Regions from separate parts of the Homo sapiens genome. Here region 2 is linked to region 1. Evidence: promoter capture Hi-C in human tissues and cell types (Jung and others, 2019). All regions are on one chromosome and are shown on one strand. The core of a region is centred on a gene start or on the middle of the fragment in contact, and the rest is flanking DNA. Distances in the headings are between cores, read along the strand shown. Region 1 holds the start of PER2 (period circadian regulator 2). Region 2 overlaps UBE2F (ubiquitin conjugating enzyme E2 F (putative)).

Evidence for each region. The method cuts DNA at HindIII sites, captures the fragments that hold promoters and counts their contacts. A contact is called where the count stands out against the background at its distance.
Region 2: a contact is called between a fragment that was not itself captured here and the fragment with the promoter of PER2 in region 1, in 2 of the 25 tissues and cell types used here (hippocampus and pancreas).

Annotation. Positions count from the first base shown.
Region 1 is chr2:238,287,194-238,289,893 of GRCh38, forward strand. It overlaps PER2 (period circadian regulator 2), which reads right to left and starts at 1,417. Exons shown (of 23, transcript NM_022817.3): 1 at 1,156-1,417. It overlaps LOC112268433 (a long non-coding RNA gene), which reads left to right and starts at 676. Exons shown (of 3, transcript XR_002959458.2): 1 at 676-704. RefSeq lists enhancers at 355-877, 962-1,856 and silencers at 1,405-1,554, 1,895-2,164. The HindIII fragment of the contact is 9,111 bases long and covers 1-2,700 here.
Region 2 is chr2:237,989,129-237,991,828 of GRCh38, forward strand. All of the region lies in intron 3 of UBE2F (ubiquitin conjugating enzyme E2 F (putative)), which reads left to right. All of the region lies in intron 3 of UBE2F-SCLY (UBE2F-SCLY readthrough (NMD candidate)), which reads left to right. Among named protein-coding and RNA genes, the nearest start is that of UBE2F, 23 kb to the left of the region's middle. The HindIII fragment of the contact is 5,368 bases long and covers 1-2,700 here.

The DNA.
Region 1 (2,700 bases), core at 167-2,666:
CAAGGCGACAGTGACAGATAACTGCAAACACCCACGGTGCCATCCCCGCGCTGGCACACCACACAGCTTCCACTCAAAAAAAACGGAGTCCCTTTCTTCATTATAGTCATATAGCACACAAAAATCAATTCACCTTGTATTTTAAAACTCAATTTCCAAATAAAGCCTTCAGGTAGAGTCCTGTTTTCTTCTCAGGCACACCCAGCCTGGGACCAGAAGCCCCAGGTGGGGGTAGAGGGTGGGCCAAGAAGTCTAGCAGTCCTGCTGTGCCATATACAGGTGAGAGGCGTCCATGTGGGGCTTTAGCCACCGTGTGGGGTTCTTAACACATTTCCCGGACTTAAGGCCCTTCCTCCCAAATTCCAGCCCACCCAGGATTCAGCACGCAAGTGGAGGCCATCACTGAACCTCTGAAGCTCATCCTGCCCCAGGACGATGGGAAGATCCTGCAGACAGCCTGGGCCTGGGCCTCAGTTTGCTCATCTGTCAGGCTGAGGGGTTACTCTGGGTGATTTTCAGGGTGCCTTCTGGCTCTGTTGTTCTGTATGAATCAGCTTTCCAAACGGGTTCCTTCTGTGTAGGTTACAGAAACCCTGGCAACCAACTCGTCATCCCTTACCCTGGCCTTCCTGAAGGGGGAAGCAGGCCACCTCCCACCCCCTGGTCTATGTCTGGGACTTGGCAGCCAAAGTACATCCCAGAAGGTAGGCGCGACTGCTGCACCAAAGAGTGGACACCCCCATTCCCTTCTATCCAGTCCGGGGAAAGGGAATTAATACAGGGTGGTCCAGGGGAGGCAAAGGGGCGAACATTAGAGGGTCTCCCCGCCCTCAGGTTCCCAGGCCTGGCTTGGCACCGGGACTTCCTTGTCCCTCTGATCACCCATTCCAGGAGACCCGTGGGTGTCCAGGAAAAGCTCCTAGATCAGCGCCCCTCCATGGCCCTTCCCCAGCCCAGGACTTAGCCCTGTGGCCTCAGAAGAGGCAGTCAGCTCCCCGAGGGTCCTCCAGATCCCAGGGCCGGCTGCGCTGACCCTTGGTTTCCTTGGCCTTCCCCATGCGAGGGGAGGGAGGGTTCCCAAAAGAGAATCGCCCACGGAACCGCAGCCCGCGCGCAGTCACTCGGTAGCTCGGTGCCCTACACACGCTGCCTCACCTTTCGGACCTCAGGCTCCTGAGCTGCGAAGCGGGGGTTCGAGTCCCCAACCCTCGGTGTCACCGCAGTTCAAACGAGCGCACCCTGCGCGCGGCTCGACCACTCTCCACCTGGGACAGGGCCAAGGGCACACGCCCCCACGCCGGCGCCGTTTCAAGCCGAGGAGTCCAGCAGCCCAAGGAACTTCCGGCGGCGCCTCCGCTGCCCGAGCCGGCGCTGGGACCCCGACCTGCCCGAGGCCCGCGCGCCGGCGGCGGTTACGTAAGCCGCAGCGGGGCCGCGCCGCGCCACTTACCGCCGGCCGCGCCCGCGTCAGCCCGTCCGCCGGTCCCTCCGCCGACTCGCGGCTCTGTCCGCCCGGCCCCGCGCCCGCCGCCGCCGCCCACAGCTGCACGTATCCCCTCAGCGCCGCCGCCTCCGCCGCGGCCGAGTCGCCGCTGTCACATAGTGGAAAACGTGACCGCGCGCGCCGCGCCCGCCCCCGGCCTCCGCCATTGGCCGCGACTCCGTCTCATCTGCATACATGAGGGGCGGGGCCTACGAACGCCGCGCGCCCATTGGTGGCCGCGCCCGTCGCTCTTTTTACATAAGACGCACATGGAACTCCATGTTCACCTCGTCGGTTCCTCAATGGAGACGCGGCGCGTTCGTGCTACCCGTCGTCCTCCCTAGTGGTCTCATCCACTTCCGGCGTCGGCGCCTTCCATTCACTACGCCCTCAAGCCCGCCAGCTCGGGGAGCGCGGAGTGGCGCGTACCATTGCGGGCGGGGGAGCTGGGCGCGGGGCTCCTGCGCACCTCCGGCCGGCCTGGCAGACCCGGCGCGCCGAAGCCGGACGAGGGAGACCTCCACCTCCGGCCACCGGCCAGAGGCGCGCCCCCAGCGGCCAGGGCCGCGGGAAAGTCCGCGCGGCATGCTTCATTCACGCATTCACATTCATTCATTTACTCATTCACTCACTCATTCATCGCGGGGCCCCGGAGCAGCCCAGGAGAAGGTGGCAGCACCGCCCTGCAGCAGCTCCGGGGGCACGCCCACCCGGGCCTCTGAGGTGCCTGTGGTCGACACTTGTCCCGGCAGCTACCAAGTGACCTTTCTTATTTTTGAGACCACGTGTTGCAATTTTTGGTTCAGGAAATAGAGTCATTGTTACTCTGGGGAGGTACAAAAGAAAGAAATGATGTTGTCCCTGCCCCCAAGCGCATCACTAGGGAGAAAGGACTATCTCATAAAAAGGAAACTTAATCAAATGCTAAATTGGGCGATGTGGGCTATAAATTAACCAGAGCTATCCCCACAGGCTCCGTGAGAAAGGCAGCACTTCCAAGGCGGGTAAGATGGGCCCTGAGAAAGGGACGCCTTACAACGGTGCAAGCCGTAGAGACGCAGGAGCCAGGGGTAGGAGGTTGTCCTGGGAGACAGCGCGGGACCCTGCATCACCTTGTTTCGGTAAGCATTGTGTGGGGCATGTGGAGCCTCTAAACTTCCATTTAAAGTGTCAGGAGAAAGAGTACAATTTCCCCGGGTCTGGGTAGAAGCCTGAGA
Region 2 (2,700 bases), core at 88-2,587, 300 kb before region 1:
GGGCTGAGGATGTCTGTGGGTAATGGTGAAATATTTTATAAGTGGGTCTGCTGGTTTGGGTGAGTGCTAGAGAGAACTTAGGATTGGATGTGGAGATATCTCTGACATGGGGCAGGACAGGGCCCATTCCAGCCTCCATCTGAAGTAGGAAAGATAATGGTGGATTGCAACCTCTCCATGGTTGTGAAATCAGTTTGAGAGGGTAAGTATGTAATGTTTCTTAAAAAATTATTATTATTTTCAAGACAGAGGCTCACTCTGTCGCCCAGGCTGGAGTGCAGTGGTGAGATCTCGGTTCACTGCAACCTCTGCCTCCTAGGTTCAAGTGATTCTTGCGCCTCAGCCTCCCGAGTAGCTGGGACCACAGGCATGCACCACCACGCCAGGCTAATTTTTGTATTTTTAGCAGAGATGGGTTTTTGCCTTGTTGGGCAGGCTGGTCTCAAACTCTTGGGCTCAAGTGATCCTTCTGCCTCAGCCTCCCAAAGTGCTGGGATTACAGGCGTGAGCCACTGCGCCCAGCCAAAAGATTATTTTCAGCATATAGAATTTATGGGTAGGTATCGTGAGTTGTGATATAAAATATGTTTCTTACTGTGGATCTCAGTTGAAAGTGTTTTGAAAGACACTGGATTGCTTGACCTCAAAGTTTTCTTCAACTCGGAAATGAGGCAATATCTTGAGATTCTGTTAAAAGGTTATCTTTCTGGCTGGGTGCAGTGGCTCACGCCTATATTCCCAACACTTTGGGAGGCTGAAGCGAGTGGATCATTTGAGCTCAGGAGTTCGAGACCAGCTTGGTCAACATGATGAAACCCTGTCTCTACTAAAAGTGCAAATTTAGCCAGTTGTAGTGGTATGCACCTGTAATCCCAGCTGCTCGGGAGGCTGGGGCAAGAGAATTGCTTGAACCCAGGAGGCGGAGGTTGCGGTGAGCTGAGATTGTGCCACTGCACTCCTGGGCGATGGAGTGAGACTGTCTCAAAAAAAAAAAAAAAAAAAAAAGTTATCTTTCTACCCACTGAAGTATTTACAGATGAAGTAGTTTGCTTTAAAATGCTACAGGAAGACAAACAATAAACAAATAACTGTGGGGGGGCAGGATAGACAAGCAAAATTGGCAAAATGTTGAAGCTGGGGGATGGGTTCATTATACTCTTCTCTTTTATTAGGACATTTTCCTAATAAAAATAAAATAAAATAATCCCTCTGCTTTCCAGTCCCATCTTATCTTCCCACAGGCCCCCAACTTGAGCCTGTATATACATGTAAACCTTTTTTTTTTTTTTTAATAGACAGGGTCTCTCTTTGTTGCCCAAGTTGGAGTACAGTGGCATGAGTGTGGCTCACTGCAGTCTCAACCTCCTGGGCTCAAGTGATCTTCCCACCTCAGTCTCCTGAGCAGCTGAGACCTCAGACCTCAGGTGCATGCTACCACGCCTAGCTAATTTTTAAAAATTATTATTATTTTTTATACAAAAAATCAGCCAGGCATCATGGTGGGCGCCTGTAGTCCCAGCTACTCGGGAGGCTGAGGCAGGAGAATGGCATGAACCCAGGAGGCGGAGCTTGCAGTGAGCCGAGATAGCACCAGTGCACTCCAACCTGGGCGACAGAGTGAGACTCTGTCTCAAAAAAAAAATAATAATAAAATTATTATTATTTTTTTGTAGAGATGGAGTCTCCTGTGTTGCCCAGGCTGATCTCAAACTCCTGGGCTCAAGTGATCCTCCCACCTTGGCCTCCTAAAGAGCTGAGATGACAGGCACGAGCCACTGTGCATGGCCAACACATGTAGACATTTAATCAAAACCACAGAAAAGGTCCCACTTATAAATGGTTCATTCATCCTTGATACATATCTTACAGAGATTGTTGGTTTTTAACCCATAGAGTGTACTTTAAAAACAAGAAAATTTTATGACTGGCTTTCAAATCAGGATTGTAACTGCATACCTTAGGTTTGAAAGAAGTATGGCACATCTCCTAGCCCTATAGCTATGGTGTCAGATAAAAAGACAGCATGCTCCCTGCCCCTTCTTTCATTCTTTCTCCCTACCTTCTCTCCTAATCGAAGAGGGGGAAATTATATCATTTTATTCAAGTAAGCCATGCTTTCCAAAAGTATGTCTCATTATGCTAAAGAGAAAACAAGAAACCACCAATGAATAACCCTTTACTATCTATTTAATTATCTTTCTAAAATATTTACAAAGGCAAACAAAATAACTTGCCTTGTATCAGTACCACTTAGTAACTATTCGGAACTAGTTTGGAGCTCTGCACATGCAAGTTTTTAGCGGTTTCTCTGCAAAAAAATTTAAAATGTTTCTTTCAGATAGACTGAAATATTAGAGGCTCAGATAGTGCATGCCTACATGTAGATAAAAAGCTTAATTCTGGTGCATTGAACTGGAACAAAAACCTGTTAAATTTTTTTTTTTTTTTAGAACTTAACCTTTCTTTTCTTTTCTTTCTTTCTTTTTTTTTTTTTGAGACAGTCTTGCTCTGTCACCCAGGCTGGAATGCAGTGGCGCGATCTCGGCTCACTGCGACCTCCACTTCCTGGATTCAAGTGACTTTCCTGCCTCAGCCTCCTGAGTAGCTGGGATTACAGGTGCCCGCCACCACGCCTAGCCAATTTTTGTATTTTTAGTGGAGATGGGGTTTTGCCAGGATTACAGGCGTGAGCCGCTGCGC